2 separate regions of the Homo sapiens genome follow, and region 1 is linked to region 2. Evidence: promoter capture Hi-C in human tissues and cell types (Jung and others, 2019). All regions are on one chromosome and are shown on one strand. Each heading gives the region's core, a stretch centred on a gene start or on the middle of the fragment in contact. The rest is flanking DNA. Distances are from core to core; before and after follow the strand shown.

The links. The method cuts DNA at HindIII sites, captures the fragments that hold promoters and counts their contacts. A contact is called where the count stands out against the background at its distance.
Region 1: a fragment that was not itself captured here is called in contact with the fragment with the promoter of RD3 in region 2 in 1 of the 25 tissues and cell types used here (mesenchymal stem cells).

The regions. Positions count from the first base shown.
Region 1 is chr1:210,445,197-210,451,042 of GRCh38, forward strand. The region is part of intron 7 of HHAT (hedgehog acyltransferase); the gene reads left to right. Among named protein-coding and RNA genes, the nearest start is that of HHAT, 120 kb to the left of the region's middle. The HindIII fragment of the contact is 5,703 bases long and covers 1,133-5,846 here.
Region 2 is chr1:211,486,778-211,493,450 of GRCh38, forward strand. It overlaps RD3 (RD3 regulator of GUCY2D), which reads right to left and starts at 5,385. Exons shown (of 3, transcript NM_001164688.2): 1 at 4,991-5,385. The HindIII fragment of the contact is 12,360 bases long and covers 1,757-6,673 here.

The DNA of each region.
Region 1 (5,846 bases), core at 2,734-5,233, 1.0 Mb before region 2:
AGAATATAAAATAGAATTGTGCTAGTATCTCTCCCTAGCCCCCTCTGCCTTTACTATTTGCCTTCTGCATTTTGTCCAGATAATCTACAAGGATTTGCAAGCCCTATGTTCTTTACAGACTATTTTCTTTTTTTCCTTTTAAAAGGTCACCTTGGCTTCAGAGCTTTCAACCTACTTTGAAAGCTTACCGTATTATGAACTTTTCCTCATGTGGTGAAATAATCTTTTAAATTTCATTCTTTTAGAGTATATTTTTTACTAGTTTTAAGGTATTCCTTTCTATGGCTTTACTGTAATTTAGTTAACCAATTCTCTGTTGTTGATTATTTAAAATTTTGCCTCATTATAAATAAGGCTTTAGTGAACATATTTACATAACCCTTTTAAAATTCACCTGGGATGATTTCCTCAGGGTAATTTCCTAGGTCAAAGGCTTTTGCAACTCATTGCCAAACCAGACTTGAGGGAAGGTAGTGTCATTTTTCTTTGTTGACATCAGCAGTGTTTGAGAGAGGTGGTTGGTGGTGGACTGATTTTTTGTTAATGCAATTGATTTCTATTTAGAAGGCTAGACATCTCCTGCCACCTGCCCCACCCTTCTCTATTTTCTGGATTCTCCTTCCCTGCTATCCTCTTAGGGTGCTTGTGAACATTCCTTTGCTCTTGGACAGTTACAGGCTCTTTTTTTTTTTTAATTCTGTAAGTTTTAGGGTACATGTGCACAACGTGCAGGTTAGTTACATATGTATTCATGTGCCATGTTGGTGTGCTGCATCCATTAACTCATCATTTAACATTAGATATATCTCCTAATGCTATCCCTCCCCCAGGCTCTATCTTTGAATATGGAGCAAGCTGCAGTCAGGGGCCATCTAAGCAGCCAACTGTGGGAAGAGCGCAAAGGGCGGAGCCTGTGGGAGATTCTCTTGTCGGGTGGGCGAGGGTGTGGAACTCTGGCCTCGTCCCCAGCCTTTTGGAACTGAGCTTTCCCAAAAGACAACTGGGGCCTCACGGGAGCCTTACAGGGCTTCTTGGAGGTCAGATTGCCTGAGTATTGAGGTTATGAACCTACCGCTTATATATATGAGTTTTTAGATAGCAGAAACTTTTCTTCTTGAAAGATTATTGTTTGAAGCCTTTCAAATATGTTCTTCCTGTTTATGGAAAAAATACCATATTAACCAAGATACCAATCACTGGATGCTAGGAATAATGGGACGATCAGGACTTTGGGATTGTGGGGTGTAAAACTTGCTCTACAATGATGTGACCTTGTTAAAAAGCAGAATGTTTCTGCAGTTGTGTGCTGGCTTTTCATTGAGCTTAGAATAAAGCCAGTCTGATCCTCCTTAACAAAACACCACGTGGTCCGGCACCTGCCACCGTGACTCATCTCCTCCCACCCTTGCCCCGGCCTCTGTGCTCCTGCACTGTGGGCTTCCTGCTCATCTTCAGAAAGAGCAAGCATGGTGCCACCGCAGGGCGCTTTTATGAGCTGTTCCTTCATCTTAGAATGCTCTTGCCTTTCGTCATCATATGACTTCCTGTCATTCCCATCTCTGCTTAAATGTCATTGCCCCAAAGAAGCTGTCCTTGGTGACTCAAAGAGAAACAGACAACCAGCGTTCTGCATCACCAGATTTTTTTCTGTGCGTAGGACTCATTGCCATGTGAAATTTTCCTCTTTTGTCTGCCTTCCATCCCAGAGTCTATGTTCCATGGACATAGGAACCTTAGTGAACTTGTTTGTCATGGTGTCCCCACTGCCTAAAACAATAGATAGCTAATAATTGACACTCCATAAATATTTGTTGAATATATGAGTAGTGCAGCGGGTCAGGCTAAACCCCTTTATAGGTTGTTAAAAGCAAGTATCCTCAATAGACTCATTTGGGGTCTGAAGATCTGAGCTTTAGTCTTAACCCCATATCCACTAATTCTGTGACGTTGGGAAAACCACTTATCATCTCTGAATCTCAGTGTACTTATCTGTAAAATAAGAATCATAGTACTTACACAGAGAACCTCATATGGTGGTTGAGAGGAATAGCTGTGACAGTAGATGTGCAAGCTGTCTGTAAGCTTTTCAACAAATGGACATTATCTCTACTGGTTTATTACAAGTAATTACAGGAGACTACCATAGGGTGCTTCCAAAGCTTGGAAAAAGGGAAAATACAGCCCACTACAGAGAGAAGACTTTTATATCAGTGCACGATGGATTAGAAACATGTATTTTGGTGCGCACTTGATTGAGGATAATTTAATTGGAGGCTTTAATCATACCCTTGGAAAGATTTTGCCGATCAGAAAGGGAGTTGGTTTAGTCAGAATTAGACAAGGAAACATCCAAAAGGCAAATCCTGACAATTCCCAGTCAAGCATTGGCTGAGGAAAGATGTCCTGGTTCAGCAATTTGCTTTGTCATGTCAGGTGGCAGAATATCCCTGTGGAGGAGACAGGTGCCTCCAGCTTTCAGAGCTTGAAGTCACTGAAGATCCAGGTTCTTGAACCAGGGCCAGTGTCCTGGCCCTGATTTCTTTCTCACCAAGCTCTCTGAGTGCATAATTTGACTTCTTATGTGGCTGACTTAGAGAAGATACGAGGCCCCACATTCTGGTAATATAGATCTGTCTCTATGAGCTGGGTTAATGTGTGTCTACCCCTAGACACAGATCTGTCTCAGGGTGCTGACAGATGAGGCTCCTGACCCACAAAGCGGAGGACCCAGACCCTGGCTGAGGTGACTGTCAGTGTACAGCCACCTTGAAGGGGATGTGGCTGGATGACCAGCTGCCTCGATCAGGGACTCCCACTCGGTAGCATAACTTTCCATCTGCAATGTGGTGATAGTTTAATTTGACAGTTTATTTGGTTAGAGGTTCTTTTTTTTTTTTTTTTGAGATGAAGTCTCGTTCTGTCACTCAGCCTGTAATGCGGTAGCTCGATCTCAGTACTCACTGCAACCTCTGCCTTCCTGGTTCAAGTGATTCTCCTGGCTCAGCTGCCTGAGTAGCTGGGACTGCAGGCGCCTGCCACCATGCCTGGCTAATTTTTGTATTTTTAGTAGAGACGGGGTTTCACTATGTTGGCCAGGCTGGTCTTGAACTCCTGACCTCAGGTGATCTGCACACCTCAGTTTCCCAAAGTGTTGGGATTACAGACGTGAGCCACTGCACCCAGCAATTAAGAGATTCTTGAATGTAATTGGTATTTTGTGTGTGCATATGAGGGTTTATCAGTCTTAGCGTAATAGTTTAGGGTAGACATACTAGAAGGGGCCAGGAGGTGGCAGTAAAAGATAGCTAGTCATTTAAGCAATTCAAATTAGACCAAATTAGCCTAATATTCAGCCTCTCCAGGGCAATTTACGAAGTATTGAGATTGGAGGAGGCAGGATGGGTGTTGCTTCTAGACCAGAGAGAGAGAGTCTACCAAAGTAGCCATTCTCATCCCAGCTTTCATGATTTCCCTGAATCTTACTTTAAACTGTTTTTCATTAAATTTTCCTGTGAAATTAAAAAAATTCTCAACTTACTCTAGTTTTCAGATTTTATGTAGAACATGTTTTTATATATAGGCTGTAGGTTGGATTGTCAGTGGATTTCAGCAGTGAGGGTCTCCCAGCCCCTTAATTTCTAGATAAGGTGGACCTGACTCTCTATTCCCTAGATGGAGCGGGGCTCAGTGCTGTCCTGAGACATTTATTCCTGAACCGCTTCTGTCCCTCACCTCATGCATACATGGAATTGGTTCTGTTTGGGGATCATATCACTGTCCCCACTGAACATCACCCTGGCTCTCATGTGGCATTTGGCTATTTTTCTTAATTTGTACACACACACCATGCATGACACACACAACCACCAACAAAAATCATTTAGATGCAGCGTGTGTTAGAGGACTTTAATAAAGGTTTAGGAGACAATTCCACAAGCAGCTTAAAATTGGTGGTCGGACCTCCCGGGTCCCTCTGCCATGTCTGACACTCAGACTCTGGCCTCTGGCCATGCTGTTCTGTCTTCTCTATCTAGCTCCTTTTTCTGCCTTTTCCCCCCTTAGGAACAAAGCTCATCCTCTACTTTTTTTTTTTTTCTAAACAGACCAATCTTTCAAAAACACAAAATAAATCATATAATTTTCTTATTTGATTTCCCAGGTCTTCCTCTATAAAGTCGTGCTTCGTGGCTGACGAGTGTGACCCTTTCTGATCATGCCTTTCCCGTCGCTGAAGTTGCATCACCATTCCCGTCTACACTTTTTCCTCCCCAGCTGCGCTGGGATGGTTCATTTCTTCATGCTTTGTCTATGCCATTGCTTCAGGTTTTCTTTACCTAGTTAATTCCTCCAAAACATCTCACTTCTGAGCTGCTTCCCCTGAGTCCTCAGGTTTAGAGGGAGCCTCCCTCTGCTCCTTCATGGCTGTAATGAATTACTTTTCATTGGGAGAGAGAAGCTGAGTGTTCCAGTCCTAAACTGTTACTAATTTTGTGACACAGGGCATATTAAGGGAGGCTAGACGGGCTAGATGATTGTGAGTTATGTAAGTGCTGACCTTCCTCAAATGTAACTGTGATCATTGAAAAAGTGATGGTCATTTAATTCACATCAGTTCATCAAAGTTTCATTAGGTCTCCATAAAGAAATTTCTACTCGCTAATTCGCTCTCTAAATGTTGGGTGCCAGGTGCTGTGTCGGGCCACAGGGACAGAGAGGAAGTGGAGATTTCCAGAGGGAGGATGCATCCACAGTTCTGGAATTCGGGGGAAATATCAAAGTTAGCGATACGTATTTGGGATTCAACAGTGAGAATATGGGCTTGGCGTGGTGGCTCACCCCTGTTATCCTGCACTTTGGGAGGCCGAGGTGGTTGGATCACAAGGTCAGGAGTTCAAAGCCAGCCTGGCCAACATGGTGAACCCCATCTCTACTAAAACTACAAAAATTAGCGGGGCATGATGGTGGACGCCTGTAATTCCAGCTACTTGGGAGGCTGAGGGAGGAGAATTGCTTCAACCTGGGAGGCAGAGGTTGCAGTGAGCCAAGATTGCGCCACTGCACTCCAGCCTGGGCGACAGAGCAAGACTGCGTCTCAGGTGGGGGGGGTGGGAAACAGTGAGGATATGGCCATTAAAGCTATTGGGAAGGGTGCCAACTGGGGAAAATGTATGGAAGATCTGCATAGATCACTGGAGCCTTGGATACATCCTGCTTTTCAAACATTTCTTCTGTGAAAGGGAAGATGTTCTGAGTGCAACTTTCCTATTCTGAAGGATTAAAAAATTATTTTGTATCTTATTTTTAAAAAAATTTTTTTTGAGATGGAGTCTTGCTCTGTTGCCCAGGCTGTAGTGCAGTGGCATGAGCTACCGCACCTGGCCATATCTTTTATAATTGGTACATTGTAAATCTTTTTTTTTTTTTTTACATACCCCAAGGACTGTGACAATAGCAGAGGGCACATTTTATAATGAATCTACATATTAAATAAATATATAGATAAAATGTACAAACAGCTTTCCCCTGGAATGCTAGCAAATTTGAAAATTAGCTGAGGATTTATCTTTTGAGGGAGCTTTGATAACTGGCAGTAACGTTTTTTCTCTTCTACTTCCTACACTATGGGATAGGGTGGTGTTAAGTTTTGTTAAAAGTGCGGGCAGATCACGAGGTCAGGAGATCGAGACCATCCTGGCTAACACGGTGAAACCCCGTCTCTACTAAAAATACAAAAACAAAAATTAGCCGGGTGTGGTGGTGGGCACCTGTAGTCCCAGCTACTTGGGAGGCTGAGGCAGGAGAATGGTGTGAACCCGGGAGGTGGAGCTTGCAGTGAGCCGAGATCA
Region 2 (6,673 bases), core at 4,135-6,634:
GGTTGCAGTGAGCCGAGATTGCACCATTGCACTCCAGCCTGGGTGACAAGAGCGAAACTCTGTCTCCAAAAAAGAAAAGAAAAAAAGAAAACTATCTGTGGAATATTGGCCAATAGCTCAATCTTAGGAGGTGCTGAAGTGTTTATGGGTGTCTACAATATCTTACATTCAAATAGTTCAGAAAACATTACATAAATATGTATACACACACCCCATAAACAGGATGTTGGGGCTCAGAAACCAATATCCTAAGATATGGCATTTGGACATGCTGAGCTGAAGAAGCCTCGTGGTCTCTCTGGCCCTCCCCACGGCCACCGTCTCTTCCAAAGCCTTTGTCTGCCTAAGATCCAGATCCACCAAAGGGAACAATGGTTTTTTTCTTCCCCTTTCTTAAGACCGAGAATGAGCCCCCACCTGAACAGACCCTCTCCCAGGATAATGTACAAGTTCATTTCTGATCCCTGCCCCGTTCATTCTCCCTAGTAATCCTCTCACCAGAACTGCTGTTCTCCCCCTCCCATAACCTGCTTTGCCAGGATGATATATAAGCTTCCGAACCACAGTGTGGGGTGAGCAGTTCCTCTGTGATTCTCCCCATGTACGCGTTTGTGATAAATGTGTACGCCTTTTCTCTAATTAATCAGCCTTTCTTGAGTTGATTTTTAAGTGAACCTTCATAGGGCCAAGCCCTTGGCCCCTACAAGAGCAAATATGGCAAAATATTAGCAATTGTTGTATCTGGGGGATATTGATAGATATTTATCACACTTTTCTGCATGTTTATGCATATTCAAGTTTAAAAGTTGGGAAAGCTCTACCTCAAAACTCACTTGTGCAGGAAGCCTTCCTGATTCACTCTACCTGATGGCCTGCGTTGTTCCTCGGGACCCCTGCCTGCAGTCCCTATTCTGCTCATTTCTGCTGCTGTGTCTTTCTTCACCCACGAGCCTGGGCATCGAGGCCTTGCACAGTGGCGTGTGCGGGGAGGGCCTAGGGCCTGGAGACTGAGGCGCAGGGCTGAGTTCTCATCCACTCACTCGCTCAGCAGACACAGGAGGAGTGTGTGACCTGCCTGTCGCTGTGCTAGGTGCTGGGACTCCCTCAAGGAGTGTACACTCAAGAGAGGGGGGAAAACAAGCAGACAAGCAATTGCGATGCCACCAAAGGCACAGCTCTCCTGAGTGGAAAGGGACTCCTGGGCCTCGGCTGTGTAAGCAGTGCAGGGTGTGCCCAGGAAGTGCCTGCCCCTGTTCTCTGCATAACCGCTACTGCTCATTAACCAGCGAGGCCTTGGTTTCTGCATTTATAAAATGGTGTTCAGACACCAGCTCAGCCCACTCCACAGGGCTTCTCTGAGACTCGGGCAGGAGACAATATGTGAAAACATTCAGTAAACTATACAAATCCTGTGCAGTGATCAGGGGTTGTAATTCTTATGAGACACAATCAGGTGGCTAAAAAGTTCACCTGGAGGCCGGGAGCGGTGGCTCACGACTATAATCCCAGCACTTTGGGAGGCCAAGGCAGGCAGATCACTTGAGGCCAGGAATTTGAGACCAGCCTGGCCAATATGGTGAAACCCCATCTCTACTAAAAATACAAAAATTAGCCAGGTGTGGTTGCAGATGCCTGTAATCCCAGCTACTCAGGAGGCTGAGGCATGAGAATTGCTTGAACCCGGGAGGTGGAGGCTGCAGTGAGCCAAGATGGTGCCACTGCACTCCAGCCTAGGCGACAGAACAAGACTCTGTCAAAAAAAAAAAAAAAAACCCACCTGGAAAGAGGTCTTGAAGGCTCTATAGAGAGGAGACAGATGACCAAATGCAATGATGACACAAAACAAGAAGAAAAGAAATGAAAGCCAGCTAGGAACATGGGCTGGGCCCTGCTTGTTAAGACCCCTATCCATCTTGGGGTCCTTAGTAAGAATCTTTGGGCTGCGTTTCCCTCTTTTGTCTGGGAGCCGGGGTGGGGACAGAGTTGCTGCTGTCCATTGACACATACATGCCTTCCGTTCCCTCTCCCCATATTCCCTCCGTGGAGTCTGGGGCCTGGGGTCCAGTACCATCCCCACTCTCACCCCCACTCACCACCTCCACTGCTTTTGACCTCAGATGCATGCTGGGTGGCCTGGCTGCACCCCCACTCCGCCTCTACTTGATCACCAGCTCAGGTGGAGCAGGCTGGGCTTGGGGAGACAGTGCAGCCTTCAGCAGATAAAACCTGAATTCAGTTCCTACGCCCTTCCCCTCCCGTGTATGCTGCCTTTGTCCAAGTCACCTTCATGGCCCCAAGCCTCAGTTTCCCCAATCTATAAGGGAATAATAAAGGTACCTATTTCAAGTTACTGTGAAAATCAAATGAGATTATGTCTTTGTAAATGTTTTATTTTTATAAACTAACAATAAGCTGATTCACCTAGATCAGTGGCTACCATTGTCGCTTAGTACAGATTCTTACCCTTGGGTCCTAGGGAAAATTCAGGGATTTATGAACTTGGGTGGGGAAAAAAGTCATCTTTATTTCCACTAACCTTTAACTGAAATGTGGTATTTCTTTAGTTATGAATGAGGGTCATAGACCACAGTAATATCAGTAGCCCCATGGCTTTATCTCCAGCAGAAACCACAGATTTTTCACAAAATGCTTTAAAGTTGTTATTCTTGAATTATCTGGTATGCTCATCACTACTATGAAATTGTGGCATTTATTAGACTTGCTACTAGGTTTTATTATTTCACATGTTGATAGGGAAGCACACATATTATTATATCATAAATCATTTTTTCTTTCTTTTTTTTTTTTTTGATAGCTGCATTTCAATAGAGCTTGTTTCCTTTGTACCCCAGTGAATTTACTTTTATGCATTTAGAAGCATTTTTCTAGGAACGTGTCCACAGGCTTCACAGACTCCCAAAGGGGGCACAAAAATAAAGGATCCCCTGGCTTGGTGCAAGCTTGACCCCAACTTTGTTCCTGGCCTTCCCCAGCCCTGGCTTCTGGTCACCGTGTTGGGAGAGCTGAGCCTCCCTGTTTCAAGAGAAGGCCCAGGTGGTGAGGCCTCAGGTTTACAGAGCAGAGTGGATGATGGGGAAGCCCTCGCACGTTCTGTCTCTGCCTTTTGGTGTCACTCACCCACGCCCGTTATCTTCCATTCTCTGATCTTCTCTTTCCTCTTTCCTTTCTCCTTCATTACCCCTTCCACCCCCACACTCTCAGAGCCTTCCTTTCAGCCTATTTTTGAACATCCCTGAGGATAATGTCTTTTCTGTGGCTCCTGGGAGGCGCCACTACCAGCTGTGGCTCGTTAGCTGTGCTGGAAAAACTCTCGCGTTGTGCCTCAAGGGCAAGAGGAGTCTCTGGTTCCACTTGGCACTCAGAGGGGGACCAGGGATGTCTCAATGGTGGGAACAATGGGGAGTGTGACCTTGGAGCTGGAAGCAGGGCTCTGACCCCCTGCAGGAGGGATGAGAGTGCCCTCACCTCTAGTGAGAACTGAGGCCCTGCGCCGGCCCCAGCCAAACAGTGAGGGCGTGCAGACCTTGCCCAGGAAGGCCAATTTCTCAGTGCAAAGGGAGCCATGGCCAGGGAACCCGGCCCGGGTCCTCCACCTCTGAAGCTGAGCTAGGCATCTGCAGGCCAGGGTGAGGGGCTGCCCTGTGTGACCCGCCGGACCCAGGCATAGAGCAGCACCTGAGTCAGGCTGTCCCAGAGCACTGGCAGCTTCACTGCAGGGGCAGGCTGGCTCTGCTGACGCCAGACGCTCAGTCTGGGCAGAGACTTCTCAGTGGGGGCAGAGAGTAGGTGCTTCTCTGGCTAATCTGCCTCCCAGCTCTGTGTTTGATAAGGCCCAAGTCCAACTTTACAGATTGCAAATTGACCTTATTTCTCTTTGGCATCACAGAAAAACAACCTATAATCCACCAAGCCAGATATGAGCGGGCCTGACCTGTGGATCCTCTGCCCACCTGACAGACATCTGCTCATTTGTCGGGAACCCCTCAAGAGACAACTCCTCCCTGCAGCCGGCCCCTCACTTCCCCCCACCCATGGAGCACTGATCCCAGCCACCAGGGCCTGACACAAGGGCCCATCACCATGGCATCTAGCAAACACGTTTCTCACGCTTTGGGTTGTATTTATCTCTTCCCCACCTAGCTATGAATTCTGCAAGGGCGAGAGGAATGTGGGTTGAATCTGCTGCACATGGTAGCACTTGATAAGCGGTTCCTGAATGAATGAGTGAATGGCAGCCAGTCCTTCCCATTCTGAGGCAGAGGTGCAGCCAGGAGAGGGCGTGTACACAGGTCTGACTGACCACAGTGGGAGGGGACTGACCCTCATCCCTTGGTCGCAGCTGGACTTTCCTTCTAGGCCCGATCTCCCTGGCGCCCCACCCTGCACCCATCTGCCTGGGCCCACTCTCCTGGGCATGTTATCAGGGATGCACAGACTGCTCCATGTTCGAGGGGACTGAGGCACATCCATCACCCTCGTGCCCTGGGTGCTGCTGCATCCCCAGAGCCTGACTCTGTGCCTTGGACTTAGTAGATGCTCGAATCACAGTTCGCAAACCCATGCAAGAGTCTCTGATTTGGGTTTCGCTTTCCTTCCCCCTGCCTGTGTCCACTCTATAAAGGCAGAAAGGAACCTGCTGGAGCTGGGTCCTCCCCGAGAGGCTTGCAGTTCCAGAACAGGCAAAAACAATGGCTTCCCACAGGTTTACAAAACAAGGAGCAGGCTATAGCCCCGAGGAAGCTGCAGGACCCTCATCGGTTCCAACTCCTGTGGAACTGATGAGGACTAAAGGGGCCTTCCTGTGGCCATCTGGGTCCCGGAGGTGGGCGGCTTTCTAGGCTCCCCAGCCTGCCACACCCCTTGAGGCCACCCCACCCAGCTTCAAGCCTCAGCCCTAACTTCCAAAGGTGCAGCTGTGCCAGGGTGCGGGTGGGGAAGACACTGTCTCCTGGGGAGACCTCCATCTTACCTCTGAGGTCAGCCTCTGCTCAGGTGCAGCGTCACAGCAGGGGGCCTGCGTTCTGCTTCCCAGTCTGGGAGAAGAGAGTGTCTGGATATTTTCAGGAAAAAAAAAGAAAGTTGAGCAGCCACAGCAGGGCAGGGCAGTCTACATCCTCAAGTCTCCCTCAGCTTCTCTGCTGCTGCCGGCTGGCCTCAAATTTTGCCTCTCTTTGGTTCTCTGAGAAGTTTTACCAAGAGAAGAGACAGGAGGAGAGATCCAGCCTGGACTATTGTTTGTGGGGTGTGTAGGTGTGTGTGTGTGTGTGTGTGTGTGTGTGTGTGTGTGTGTGTGTATGCGTGTATGTATCCCGCGAGGCTGGAGCCACAGCTTCCCTGATGAACCATGGAGGCGGGCCAGCTCCTGAGCTGCGGTTGCCCTGGAGACCCACCTAAGCCTCTTTGCCTGGAGCAGCATTATCTGTAGAGGGAGTGGCTGATCTGACACAAAAGCCTGAGGCGACCCAGGCCCAGGCAGTGAGGGAGCACTTGTGTCCAGATGGCATTCTGTCCGCTTCCTCCTCCAGCCGGTGCTCAGTGTGGCACAAACTGGGCAAGACCATTCTCACCCAACCCTCTGCTGAGCCCTAGGTGTACCTGCTGTTGGCAAATGTTTCCAGCTGCCTGGTGGGTGGCTCCTGGATGGAGATCCCCTCTTTCTATCAGCTCCCTCCTACAGGGAAGGGGTGATTCTGGGTGCTGAGGACAGGGACCTGTGAAGATACATCTCCGCCTTTGCCCCACCACATCCCTTGCCTGTCTTCCTCTCTGCTTATCTAAATTATTTCCTTCCCTCAAGGCAAGCTCAAGAGCAGACAGTTCTGACTTTCAGAAGGAGGGGCTGTCCAGGGAGAAGAGGAACATGGAACAGAAAGCATTGACGTTGAGGTATTTGAGATAACATTTGGGGATAGCAGAAGCATCCTGTTGCTGTTCTGCAGCATCCCACACTCATGTCTGGGCCTCCTTCCTGTCTCTGCTCTCTGGTCACGCTGTCACTTGTAGACTGTTCTGCCTAGAAGCCATGTGTGGGCCAGCTTGCACCTAACAGACATTAGGTAGCACTAAAACAGATGCACACTGCCCTGTGAGGGGCATGGGAATACTGTAATGGGCATGAAGCTGCATTATAATAGATCTTAGGTAATCCTGTGCTGGGTGATAGCGTGACTTTTGCACACATCTGGTTTTGATTGTGTTGGAAATAAAGCAGAAAGTACAACCAAGAATAAATTAAACAATGGCTGATGAAATGGACTCAGGTTGCCCACCTGCCTGCCTGCATGATTTCGTCCCTGGGTGATTTGTCACTTCGTGCTTGCTCTGTGGCTGGTTCCACTCAGCTGGTTCCATCCGCCTTCCCTCTTCATCCATCAAGCAGGCAAGATTCTTGAGTCAGGAGTTGGATCATATACTTCTCTTGACCAGTTCACAGCACGACAGCCCCAAAGATTGAGTGGGTCACTTGGGGATGGAAGATCCCCACATTTGAGGGAGCTGAAGCTGACTTCCTCTGACCCACAGTTCCCAGGCGGCCTCCACCTCAGGGCCAGCTAAGGCCAGAGTCACCCAAAGCAGGTAACTGGGAGTCCCCACCTCTGAGCACCCCACCACTATCCTGGCACTTTCCCAAGGGGCGTGGCTTGGAGGTCCA